Regions from separate parts of the Homo sapiens genome. Here region 2 is linked to region 1. The links are contacts of gene promoters, found by promoter capture Hi-C in blood cells and fetal thymus (Javierre and others, 2016). All regions are on one chromosome and are shown on one strand. Each heading gives the region's core, a stretch centred on a gene start or on the middle of the fragment in contact. The rest is flanking DNA. Distances are from core to core; before and after follow the strand shown. Region 1 holds the start of THSD1 (thrombospondin type 1 domain containing 1). Region 2 has its middle 8.1 kb from the start of CCDC70.

Region 1 (6,909 bases), core at 1,335-3,834:
TTTTAGTTTTAGATTTGGGGGTGCATATGCAGGTTTGTTACAAGGGTAATTGCATGTTGCTGAGGTTTGGGCTTCTATTGATCCTGTCACCTAGATAATGAACATAGTACTGAGAGGTGACAGCGTGCTGGCAGCCCTCACAGCCCTCGCTGGCTCTCAGCACCTCCTCTGCCTGGGCTCCCACTTTGGCGGCACTTAAGGAGCTCTTCAGCCCGCTGCTGCACTGTGGGAGCCCCTTCCTGGGCTGGGCTGGCTGAGGCTGGAGCTGGCTCCCTCAGCTTGCGGGGAGGTGTGGAGGGAGAGGCGCTGGCGGGAACCGGGGCTGCGCACGGTGCTTGCGGGCCAGCACGAGTTCCGGGTGGGTGTGGGCTCGGCGGGCCCGCACTCGGAGCGGCCGGTGGGCCCTGCCGGCCCCGGGCAATGAGGGGCTTAGCACCTGGGCCAGCAGCTGCAGAAGGTGTGCTGGGTCCCCCAGCAGTGCCGGCCCACCGGCGCTGCGCTCAATTTCTCGCAGGGCCTTAGCTGCCTCCCTGAGCAGGGCAGGGCTCGGGACCTGCAGCCCGCCATGCCTGAGCCTCCCCCACCTTCCATGGGCTCCTGTGAGGCCCGAGCTCCCTGACGAGCACCACCCCCTGCTCCACAGCGCCCAGTCCCATCGACCACCCAAGGGCTGAGGAGTGCGGGCACAGGGCGCGGGACTGGCAGGCAGCTCCACTTGCAGCCCCGGTGCGGGATCCACTGGGTGAAGCCAGCTAGGCTCCTCACTGGTGGGCACTTGGAGAACCTTTATGGCTAGCTAAGGGATTGTAAATACACCAGTCGGCACTCTATCTGGCTCAAGGTTTGTAAACACACCAATCAGCACCCTGTGTCTAGCTCAGGGTTTGTGAATGCACCAATGGACACTGTATCTAGCTACTCTTGTGGGGACTTGGAGAACCTTTGTGTGGACACTCTGTATCTAGCTAATGTAGTGGGGACGTGGAGAACCTTTGTGTCTAGCTCAGGGATTGTAAATGCACCAATCAGCGCCCTGTCAAAACAGACCACTCCGCTCTCTGTAAAATGAACCAATCAGCAGGATGTGGGTGGGGCCAGATAAGAGAATAAAAGCAGGCTGCACGCGCCGGCAGTGGCAACCCGCTGGGGTTCCCTTGCAAAGCGTGGGAGCTTTGTTCCTTGGCTCTTTGCAATAAATCTTGCTGCTGCTCACTCTTTGGGTCCACACTGCCTTTATGAGCTGTAACACTCACTGCGAAGGTCTGCAGCTTCACTTCTGAAGCCAGCGAGACTACGGACACACTGGGAGGAACGAACAACTCCAGACGCGCCGCCTTAAAAGCTGTAACACTCATGGCGAAGGTCCGCAGCTTCACTCCTGAACCAGCGAGACCACGAACCCACCAGAAGGAAGAAACTCTGAACACATCCGAACATCAGAAGGAACAAACTCCGGACAGGCCGCCTTTAAGAACTGTAACACTCACCGCGAGGGTCCGCAGCTTTATTCTTGAAGTCAGAAAGACCAAGAACCCACCAATTCCGGACACAGTACCCAATAGGATGTTTTTCAGCCCTTGCCCCTTTCTCTCCCTCCCTTGACTTGGAGTCTCCAGTGTTTGTTGTTGCCATCTTTATGTCCATGAGTACCCGTTGTTTAAGCTCCCACTTATAAGTGAGAACATTCGGTGTTTGGTTTTCTGTTCCTATGTTAATTCACTTAGGATAATGTCCTCCAACTGCATCCATGTTGCTACAGAGGACGTGATTTTGTTCTTTTTTTATGGCTGTTTAGTATTTCGTGGTGTGTATGTACCACATTTTCTTTACCCAGTCTACTGTTGATGGGCACCTAGGTTGATTCCATGTCTTTGCTATTGTAAATAGTACTGTGATAAACATAGTGCGGGTGTCTTTTTGGCAGAATGATTTATTTTCCTTTGGGCATACACCCAGTAATGGGATTGCTGGGTCGAATGATCTTTCTGTTTTTAGTTGAGAAATCTCCAAACTGCTTTCCACAGTGGCTGAACTAATTCACATTCCTATAAAAAGAACTTTAACACTTGCAGAGTAGAGTTTTTAAAATGTTTAGTTATTTTTAATACCAATTCTGACCCCAGGGAAAGAAAATGGAGATGCACTTTACCTGAACTATGTTCTTTTGAAACTCTTCAGTGACATTTGGGAAAGCAAGTTTACAGCCCACATGCTGTGCCGCTTCAAGGACTTATTTTTGTGGTCTCCCTGAAGAAAATGACACTAGAGTAGAAGTGATTGAATGTGAAGTGTCAGGAGATTGCTCGCTCGTCCTTCGTTAAACCCCTGGTCCGGCTGTGTGCTGTGGATGCGGGTGTGTGTTGAGGGGACCTGCGTCTGCCGGGGCCGCACCCCCTCCCGCAGGACCTTGGCTGGCCGCGCGTTTCCTGCCTGTTTCCTGTCCAGCAGCTGGCGAGCTGGGGACCGGCAGGAAAGGATGCGCTGCCCAGAAGGGGCGGGAACCGACCACGCCCGGTCCCGTGTGCCCCCCGCCCTCCCGGCGCCCGCCCTCCCCACGCCGTCGGGGGCGGGCCCCGCGGGGCTGTGGGAGCCGAACGCCGCGGGGTCAGGGCGTGCAGTCTGGGACGCGGGATGCTTGGCGCTCTACCTCGCCGCCCCTGAGCCTTCCCGTCCGCCTCGCCACGCGCCCGGACGGCCTGGGGTTGCTGCCCGTCAGTCTCGAAAGGTAAGAAGCGCCCTCCGCATCCTGGTGTTCGCGCCCGTGCCGCGAGACTCTTGGAGGCTCCTCTGGGGTCGGGAAATGCCTCCGGACTCTGCCACCTCACCGCAGCCTGAAGGCGCAGGTGGACGGTGGCGGCCCCTCCCCACACCCGCCTCGGCCCCAGGGGACGCTTTTAAGGGGTATTGGTCTCCACACTTCGGAGTCCCGAATTTAAGTGAACCTGGCTCTGCCTTGGCTCAGATGTTGCCGAGTGACTGAGACTGGCCACAGAACCTTGAAAAATCGCGTCTTGAGCTACTGTTTCTTTCCAAAAAGAAATCCTTTCTGATATACAAAAAGTATGAAATACAAGGATTAAATTAAATTAAAGACGGTCCTCATTAAGGAGGGCTTTAAGCTGACGACGCGAGGGGTAGACTTCCAGGCGTGAACTGGGCTTGCGGGCATTTGGGAAGCTGAGTAGATGGGGCGAGCCAGGGCGTCCCAGGAACGCTGCACCCAACCTGTGGGACCAGGGCAGAGCAAACTCGAATGAACAGATAAATGAAGCCTGTTTACACGAGCTGCTTTAGAACTAGAGATTTCCTCCCAATAAATACTATTGGTATATATACACACAAGCATGTGCATGTTGGTCAGAAGGGACAAAATAACTGCTTCGTTTTCCATTTTATTCTTTCACGAATCATTGGTCCCATGGACATTAGTGTAATTCATTTACTTTTTCTGCAGCTATGAAGGGAGATTTAGAAGCGTTTGTCCTAGCTGGTTTCAGCAAAAACATGGGGTCTCAGGTTGGGTGATGCTGTTAGCCATTGAGAATATTCACAACTTTTCCCCACCTTCTCAGCTGATGCATTTAGAATTTGTCTCTAAAGTTTACATACAAGAATGCTAGGTAGAAGTATTTTCAAATGTGTATAAAATATATCTAAGTTCTTAATTTCTTAGAACAATTCTCAATGCAAACATTGTAAGAAGTCAGTCGAGGTATTGAGAACAACATGTTGAAAGAAAATAAGCAAGGTAGAAAGAAATTAAAGAGACATATTATGACTAATGTTATGATCATATTCCATATTATGATTGACAAGTAGGCTGGTCTGTTTTATAAGTCTTTTTCCATTCAGCTCTAAATATAGATTGTCTCACCATTCTATGTTTTACCGATCATTTTCATAAGAAAGAAAATGTGTTATAATCACTAAATCAGTAATGATTTGGGGCTTCAAAAATAAAAATGTTATTGTCGTGGAAGCAAACAAATCTGAGAGAAGCCAGTTCAACTTTTGGGAGCTTGCTTCTTCTTAGTTTGGTTACCAGGTCTCAGTGACTTAAAAGAAGCATTGTAATTGTCTTAAGTGCTCACACTTGCCCAAGTGATGTGATGTGTTCTGCAAGGATCTTACTGGCTGACTTTGCCCAGGTTTCCCAGTCCATGTTCGAGGAAAGAATTGGGTCAAGTCTGTGGCTAATTCCACCCAAAACAATTTTCTTCTTCTTTCCTTTCTTTTCTTTTTTTTGGGTGGGGGTGGCGGGGAAGAGGAAGGAGCCCTAATCTGCATAGTTACACTTCAAATCTCTGTTTCCCTTTCAGGAAGTACAGTATTTCCTTTGTTCAGCAGCTCTTGCTGAAAGAAAGCTAATAAGACACACCAGTTTCCCTTCCATTGAATTCTGGCTTATTTCAATCAGTCTTCTTAATTCCACTAATTTGTGCTCTTATCTGAAAAGATGTAACATGTATTTGGAATATAATATACTTGCTTATTAAAATGATTAACTGTGGGCTGGGTGTGGTGGCTCACGCCTGTAATCCCAGCACTTTGGGAGGCCATGGTGGGCAGATCACGAGGCCAGACATCTGAGACCAGCCTGGCCAAAGTGGTGAAACACCGTTTCTACTAAAAATACAAAAATTAGCCAAGCGTGGTGGTGCACACCTATAATCCCCGCTACTCAGAAGCCTGAGGTGGGACAATCACTTGAACCTGGGAGGTGGAGGTTGCAGTGAGCCAAGATCATGCCACTGCACTCCAGGCTAGGTGACAGAGCAAGACTCTGTCTAAAAAAAAAAAAAAAAAAAAAAAAAAAATGTGAATAATGGGGGGGACCTTAAACATTAAGAAAGTACATATTTGGTTATATTTAATATTAATACATAGTTTGCTAGACTCTAGTATGAAAGAACTGTCTTAAATGCCCAGTATCTTATTCTATAGTTGAATAGTCTATATAAAAATAAGTGCCTTTTCCAGCCGGGTGCGGTGGCTTACGCCTGTAATCCCAGCACTTTGGGAGGCTGAGATGGGCAGATCACGAGGTCAGGAGATCGAGATCCTGCCTAACACAATGAAACCCCGTTTCTACTAAAAATACCAAAAATTAGCTGGGCATGGTGGTGGGCGCCTGTAGTCCCAGCTACTCGGGAGGCTGAGGCAGGAGAATGGCGTGAACCCGGGAAGCGGAGCTTGCAGTGAGCCGAGATCTCGCCACTGTACTCCAGCCTAGGCGACAGAGTGAGACTCCATCTCTAAATAAATAAATAAAATAAAATAAGTGCTTCTTCCAACAAATAACTGAACCACAGGCCAGCAAGGTCTTCCCTGCCCTCTTAGGTAGACTGGGAAGATTGCTGTGTGAACCACCGATCTCGTGATGCATACCAGCAGCAACAAGTATTGCAGGACTGATGAAGATGATTGTTATTTGTCTGTTTTCTCCTTAGGCTGCCCTAAACAAGGGAAGTCAGGGCCACATGGAGTTCATATTTAATTGTAGTATTCTGGGGTATCTTTTTTTTAAAAAAGCTTTGATCACTTGGATGTAGCTCCTAGGAATTGATAAATGAAGCAATCCTGGTAACACACCAATTGTGCAAGGAAATGTTAGCCCATTTGTGGACGCCAGGCAGGGAGCATTTGGGTATACACAGCACAATGCTAAATTAAAGTTTAGCAGAAATTTAGTAAATTGATCAGTGTGAAATGCCAAGCAGATAAATAATGTGAAAATGTATCCAAATTGGCTATTAACTTTGATAAAATTAAGCAAATAACAATAAACTCTCCACGTCAGGATGTGCTGTAAAGAGAAGAGACTTTGGTGTTGTGCAAAGATAATTTTAGTGGGTGTTGGGCATACCTGCATATTCTTGACCTGTGAGTTATAATGGAATGAAAAAGGCTTGTATAATTATAAGTCATTGCCCCAGGGAAAATTAGTGTCCTCTCTAGTTTCCTTTCAATATCACTTAGAAAGTTTGAGTTTTAGAATGGTTTTGTCATTTAATGATTACTATTTTATCAATCACATTGAACGGAGCCATCATTTTTTGAGGTTCTAATTTCAGGTGTTTTTGGGGAAAAAAATCACAATCTGGACGTGAGAAAGGACATGAGGAGACTAAAGACCTGGGATTTTGTCAATCAGAATGAAACCAATGTTGAAAGACTTTTCAAATCTATTGTTGGTGGTACTCTGTGACTATGGTGAGTATTGTGAGTATACTTAACGCTACTGGTAGCAATAAGACATAAAGATGACATTATAAATGCATTGATGTTGATGACTCTTCCTGAAGGAGGCAGGGTAGGGTATATAGTGCAGTGCTTTCTCAACTGTGACCCTTGCAACCCTGGGTTCTCTTATGCTTCAGTGATTCTGCATGATTGATTCGTATTTCATTTTATATTTTTAACTCTTAAAAAAATAAAAAAACCAACTCTCTCAAATTTTAACAAATTGGAGGCAAGCATGTTACCTTGAGTTCTCTTTGATTTCCCAGTAATTAAGTGTGATAAATCACTTCATACACACATGCAATGATGTTGTGTATATTAGGGTTCTACATAAGATTTCACTTGACCGAGTTTTGGTGCTAACATACATTTGGACCCAATCTGAATTTCAATCCTTGAAAGTTGCGTGCTCTTAGAAAAGTTTCTTAATCTCTTTCAATCTCAGCAATAATATTGACTTTACAGGGTTGTTATGATAATATCAAGAGTGCAAAACACCCTGAATGAGCAAATAGTAGGTGCTTAAAGTCTGTTCTCGTCATTCGTTTCACCTAAAAATTGAGTTCATTTCTCAGAGAGCTTTATACAACTACTGAACAATAGAGTCAACAATATGATATAATCTTCACTACTTTTGATGATTTCCAAATATTTCATAGACATCTA
Region 2 (6,909 bases), core at 3,008-5,507, 540 kb after region 1:
AGAACAACTGGTGGTTTAACAAGCCCTCCGGTTGATTCCGATGTATGATGAAATTCAAGAAACATTGCTTTAAGTAATATGCTTATCTTACTACTTTAAAAATTTTTAGTGTTAGGCATTATATACTGACTTCCCACAACTAAAAAATGAGCAGATTTCCCATCCCCTCTCTCATTCCAATATTGTGTATTGTAACTTGGGTGGATCACTATTCGGTGCTATTTATATTTTACATAACTACATAAATGCCATTCACAGCTGGGTATGTAGTAGACCACACTATTCTTCCTTTCCTGCACAACTCTTTGTTTGACATTAATATGTAACTGTTGTTTTTCTCTCAGTTGCTGAGTTTTCTCCATACTTACTACTAATTCACTCTCAAACTCTCCTCCAGCAATGTTCATTCTCCTTTTAACACCTTCAGTTACTTTAGGAGTTCCATTAATTTCGTCTTGTCTTTTTTAATGACTTCCGACTGCTCCATTCTGGACTGGGGTTCTGCCTGGGCCTGGGCCACAGCTGTCCCCTGGGATCTCCCCTCCCCTGACCACTGTATTGGATCTCCTGCTTCCTGATGCCACCTCTACCCCTGTCTTGCTTAACTCCCACATTTTGGTGGGGCTTCCCAGAAGAGGGGGCATTCGTGTGAATTGAGATCTCATGTGCCTGAAAAACGCCTTTATTCTACCCTCATTCTTGATAATTCGTCTAAGAATAAAACTTGGAGTTGAAAATCATTTCTCTCAGAATTTTGACATTAATGTTTCCTTGTCCTCCATTGTTCTAACACCCTCCAGTGGTGTCATTGAGAAATCTGAAGCTATTTTTATTGCTTGTCTTATTTTATATAACTTTATTTTTATTTTTGTTACTTGCTCTTGTTCTGTCTCTCTTCCACTTTTTCTCTGTAGGAGATTTTAGGCCTTCTCTTTGCTCCCAGTATTCTGAAATTCCATAGTGATGTGTCCTGGTTGGATCTGTTTTCATCCACTCTTCTGGGCACTCATGAGCCCTTTCCATCTGCAAACTTGTGTTCTGGGACATAGTCTTGGATGATTTTTTTGAGCATGTCTTCCCCTATGTTCTTTTCCTTTTCTTTCTTTTTTGATCTCAGTGTGTGGAGGATGGAACTCCTGGTCTAAGCCTCTCTCTCTCTCTCTTCTTAAACTTCCCCTATCTATGTTTGTCTTTTTGCTCATCTTCTTAGAGAGTTCTTCAACCTTATCTTCCAACTCACTTCTTGAACTTTTCATTCCTGCTGTCATATTGTCCAATAACTCTTTTTTTGGTTTTCTGAATATTCCTAGCATTTTGTTCTTGTTTCAGTGATGCAATATCTTTCTTATCTCTCTATGGATATTAATAATAATTTATAATCTTTTAGAAGCTTCTTTCTCCCTGTATATTCTCTGTTTCCTCCAAGCTACAGTTATCTGTTAATTTTAGGCTATATCATATTAGAGGCTTTCCAAAAGTGCCCCGTGATCCTTGGACATCTGCTCATATTTAAGAGAGGAGCGATAAAACAGTTATTAGAAGCTCTGTGTGCATGGGCGAGTCCCCAGAATTAGCACTTCTAGGCCTATTCTCCTGAGCTGGTCAAATTCCCTGGGGAAGATGCTTCCATTCTCCTGTTAGAAGGGACAAGTTTGGCTGCCAGCATTCTGGGAGCTGAGTGAGGAAGGAAGGCTGGAAAGCCTCTGGGCGTCTCTGTTTGTGTGTGTGTGTGTGTGTGTGTGTGTGTGTGTGTGTGTGTGTGTGTGTGTGTGTGTGTAGGGGGAGATTATTATCTATTTTTGCATAACAAATTACCCTAAAACTTAGTGGCTTACAAAAATAAACATTTATTATTTCACAATTTCTGTGAGTTGGGAATCTAAGAACAGGTTAGCTGGGTGGTTCTAGCTGAGGTTACAGTGAGGTGTGGAACAGCTGCAACCATCTGGCTCAGTCTGGAGGTTCTGCTTCCAAAGTGGCTCACTGACATTCCTGGCAAGTGGCAAGGGATGCTAGTTATTGGCAGGAGGCTTCATTTGCTCCCTATGTGTCCTTGTGACATGGCAGCTGCCTTCCTCCAGAGCAAGTGATTCAAGAGAGAGCAAGGCAGAAGCCACAGTGTCTTTTATGATCTAGCCTTAGAAGTCATACTCTGTCATCCTGGCTAACATGGTGAAACCCTGTCTCTACTAAAAATACAAAAAATTAGCTGGGTGTGGTGGCGGGCACCTGTAGTCCCAGCTACTCGGGAGGCTGAGGCAGGAGAATGGTGTGAACTCAGGAGGTGGAGCTTGCAGTGAGCCGAGATTGCGCCACTGCACTCCAGCCTGGGCAACAGAGCGAGACTCCATCTCAAAAAAAAAAAAAAAAGTCATACTCTGCATTTTTCTTATTATTCCATTGGTCACACAGATCAGCCCTACTCAGTGTGGGTGGGGATGGTCCAAGGGTATGCATACCAGAGGGGGAGAATCACTAGGAGTCATCTGGGAGGTTGGCTCCTATGGTGGGGAGGGGGCCAGGCGGGAGTTGGGGAGGAGGAAGGTCTCAACACATAATGTACAATTTTATTTTTTGCCAGTTTTTTGTGAGATACCACCATCTTCTGCAATATCTGATATCTGCAGTTTAAGGACCCTGAGTTTTGTCCTCCCCAAAGAATAAACCTCCTGTCTTCTACAAAATGGAGGAGCAGTTTGTAGGGGAGAGAATCTAAGAGTTTGCTTCTTGAAAACGTAGTCTTCCTGTCCTTGGCTCCATCTATCCCCGTGCTTCAGGAAGCACCTGGCCTGCTAATTTTCCAGCCTTGGTGAGAGGGAGGTGGCTCTGTAGTATAAGTTGGGTTGGTTCTTGGCTTTCCCCACTGCCAGCTTAGAATTCAGATTTATTATTTTTGCTAATTCCGTTTCCACTCATTCCTCAGCTTTTCTGCTTTCAAAATTGTGTTGCTATTGGTTTCTTTCTGATTCTTTTTGTTCTTGTGGATTTCTGATTTTTAAAAACAACCCCTTCTCTGTGTTTTATCGGGACTTGAGGGAGTAGAAGCCAGTGCATGCATTTGCTTTGTTATCTTTAACTGGACATCCCCTCCTCTTCTCTTTCATTCTCATTTCTTCTGGGCTTTGCCCTTTAATTTGAAAATTATTCTTTGTTTTTTCTTTTTTCCTCCTCTCATAAAGCTTCTGAAATGGGCCAAGAACCTATTTTAAAAGCCAAAAACTGAATAAAGACCCTTTCTATGTGTATTTTTAATTTATCCTAATAAAATGGATGGCTCTGGTTAAATAGATAGTCACACACACAAAAAAAACCAAAGAACTTTTATATATTTCAAAATATTATCCAACCACAACAGCACTGTCATGCTGTTTGAGTGTGAGATCCCCTCCTTCATGACCCCCTCGGCTCCACTTTGCTTAGGCCTGATGTAAGTGACTTCACCTTGGCATCAACGACTTTCACAGGGAAAGGGGTAACCAAGGAACCACAAAAGCCACCATAAAGACTAAGAAGCAGCAGCTTTAAACAGCTGTCGAATCCAGAGAGGGTCAAAGCTAGACCTCTTGAATAGGATCAGTCATGGAAGAACTATCCTGCTTCTCCGTCCCCTCTACTTCTACCTCGGAAGGATCCGAACCTACATGAGCACAACCAGGAGAGAAAAAGGAGAAGTATTCATCCCTCTTCGACTGCAGGATTTCTGATTCCTGCAGAGCGTACTTGAGGGTCCAGAGCTTTATTACATGGGAATGGAACATCTTAATTACTGAATTGAGGCCAGGCGCGGTGGCTTACACCTGTAATCCCAGCACTTTGGGAGGCTGAGGTGGGCGGATCACGAGGTCAGGAGTTGGAGACCAGCCTGGACAACATGGCGAAACCCCGTCTCTACTAAAAATACAAAAATTAGCCGGGCATGGCGGCAGGTGCCTGTAATCCCAGCTACTCAGGAGGCTGAGGCAGGAGAATCCCTTGAACTCTGGAAGCAGAGGTTGCAGTGAGCCGAGATCGTGCCACTGCACTCCAGCCTGGGCGACAGGGCGAGACTCCATCTCAAAAAAAAAAAAAAAATTACTGAATTGGGACTGGGTTTTTTAACTTAAAGTGACTGGAAGAATCCATGGTGTCTACTCGAGTTTTAATTTAGGGACAAGGGTGGAGCTAGCCCCATTGATACCGTTTAAAGGGACAAGATAATTCTTGATAGCACGACGTCTAATGCTGGCACATAAGAACTTAGGACATGGTCCACCCTCCTCGGGGCAATGAGGAATAGCTTTGTTGAGGTTAATAATGTGAGGATGGAGAGAGCAATAGATGAACTAGAGTCAGACCTTGATCATGACACAGCTCCACTCCTTACCACAGCCAAAGTCTCTTCACTGAGCATTGTTCCTTCATCTACAAAATAAGGGGGTTCAACTAGACAGCCAGTGGGATGCCTTCTCTATCTAAACTCTTGCATGAGTCTAGGGATGGCAAGGTGGAGAGGGGTTGGGTGAGTAGCCCCTTTCCTGGAGATAAACCACAGATGGTTTAAACCAGAGAAGACACTGGAGAACCCACTGCATTTCAAAAATATTTCCTTTCCCTTCTGGCAGCTTTGGGTAATTTGGGTAAGCACTTCTGGGTGGAGGCACAGCTCAGGCTTTGCGGGGAAGATGAATTTAGTGGTGAAACAACAGTTATGACAATAGATGCTGTTTCTGGCGCCTCTGAATCTTCTAGTATCTGCATTATGATTTTGGAATAAAAGATGATTCATTTCGAGTCTGGAACTCAGCTAAATGAGCAGGACTCTGAAACACCATAAATGACATTTCTCCCTGCCAGGAGCTCAAAGCAGGGAGACTGAGCCACTCCATAGATATTTGCCTGTGCTTTGTCTTACGAAAGACCCAGGAACTCTCTCAGGAGTTCAGCCTTGCTGTCACAGGTGCTGGCTAAGGGAAGCCAGCTTTGGCTGCTGCTGAGGTTGTGGAGAAATCTATCTGCATTTGTGCTAACAGTATTAATAAAAGCCCAGAAGTTAGGAGATGTTTCTGTGAATGTTATCTGCACTCTATCTGTGAAACAATGCTGAAGGTCAGGTGATTCCCAGATATTAGTTGTACACAGCTTACTTATCCTTAGGTTTCCTTTTGGCTAAAACTCGGTTTCATTCATCTCTGTGCATCTTTGCATAGCGTTTAAAGCACACTCGAGTGACATGCACTGCTGTAGTGCTCTCTCAGAGAGGCAGCCCCATGGGCCTCTTCCCTCCTAGCATTTGCCAGATTTTCCAAATAATGACATTGTGATTGTGTGACTCTCCCGCACTGGACGGAAAGCTTCCCGTAGGCAAGAATTAGCTCGTTCCCAAACATAGCATAGTGTTGGCAAGGCACAGTGGTGATGAATAAATACATAAGTGGATGATGAATTAAATGATTTATGTAGCAAAGGGATGCTGGCTGCACACCTTCTTGTTGGATGGCAGGGAACAAGAAGAAAGGTTGAGTTCACCCAGGTGCTAAACAAGCTTTGAGAACTTCCTTTCCACAGCAGATAAAAGGAGTCTGCAATTGTGGAGGTCTAGAGTACACTTTTCATCTCCCTTCATCCTGAATTTTGTCTTTGGCAGAATCTCTGGGGATTTTTGAATCTGCAGCTTTTCTCTGCACTGGGGTTCCTGCAGTGTGAATACCATCCAATGGCCCACACCGTCCAGGTCTTGAGTGTGGGCCCCTGGCAGCCCTCTTGAAATCGAATTCTCTCCACCCTGCATCCTATTCCCCATGGCTTGCTGAAGTCCTTGCCCTGGGACCCATGGAGAGCTGAGGATGGGTGTGTGACCAAGGAGAAAGCTGCTCCCACTGCTCTCTGACCCTGCTTCCTCTGAGAATCAGAGGACTTGCAGGGAACCCAGACTTTCCCAGCGCCAATTTTTCCATTGGCCATGCAGTAACCCAGGCTTTCCCACAATCTTCTGAAGCCTCAGAGGCCTGGCTGCTCCTGGGAGTCGGCCCACTCTCCTGGCACCAAGGGTATTTGTTCACCCTTGACTTTGTAAAGATCCCTGTCCTCTCCTCTCCCTAGCTCTCCACCCCCAAGCCACTGTGAAATCCTAGTGTACTTTAAGGCTCTCCCAGTATTGACACCACTATCAGCCAAGTCACTTCCCGTGACCCAGGGCTGTATTAGGAAAGGGCCACAATACCAAGAGACAGACACTGTGGGTTTTGGTCCTGGCCCTCCTATTTGCTACTTGCTGAACCACATGCACTCACATTGCTTCTTTAGGTCTCTGTTTCCTCATCTGTACAATGGGTTTATGCACCTTCCCTGCCAGCCCACAGAGCTGTGGTGAAGGTCACATGAGGAGGTGCATGAGAAAGTGCTTGTCTAGTAGTAGGGGACCCACTACGGTGAGGTAAGTTGATGTGTTAATGACAGTGAAGGCCAGGCCTAAGGAAAGGGGGAGCAGGACACATTTGTCGTGGCGTTTCTTACTCCCTTACTCCCTCACTCTGGTCATTTGTGTGGCATTCCCTATAAAGGCCATCTAATCTCCCCACCCCCAGAAGAAAAGTTGGGCACATAAGTTGCTTGACCACATTCATGTACATTCATTCAATGTACTACTCCCTAGGGTATTTTAATTTTAAAATAGATGAAAGCAGGAAGCCCCCCAAAAAGAATGTATAATACAGAAACACAGGGACCATGAGACTTATGTGAGTGGGAATATGTGAGGGCAGGGACAGGGAGCATGCCCATGCATTGCCCAGGCCACTCCATGGGTCAACTTGACTCCCTCATCAGGGGCGTCAGTGCTCTTGGGGGCCGCACTCTTGAGTCTCAGCCCCCACGCCAAGGCCCCATTCTCACGCTGCCTGAGTAGGGCAGCTGAGACGTTTGGTGGAACTC

Evidence for each region. Contacts are between HindIII fragments. The CHiCAGO score rates a contact against its expected background, and 5 or more counts as called.
Region 2: a fragment that was not itself captured here is called in contact with the fragment with the promoter of THSD1 in region 1 in 1 of 17 cell types (M2 macrophages); the score reaches 6.2 in M2 macrophages.

Annotation. Positions count from the first base shown.
Region 1 is chr13:52,401,847-52,408,755 of GRCh38, reverse strand. THSD1 (thrombospondin type 1 domain containing 1) reads left to right here and starts at 2,584. Exons shown (of 5, transcript NM_018676.4): 1 at 2,584-2,725; 2 at 6,075-6,213. The coding sequence starts at 6,156. RefSeq lists a silencer at 2,495-2,654. The HindIII fragment of the contact is 11,042 bases long and covers 1-5,534 here.
Region 2 is chr13:51,866,654-51,873,562 of GRCh38, reverse strand. It overlaps a transcript of TMEM272 not described here. Among named protein-coding and RNA genes, the nearest start is that of CCDC70, 8.1 kb to the right of the region's middle. The HindIII fragment of the contact is 2,151 bases long and covers 3,182-5,332 here.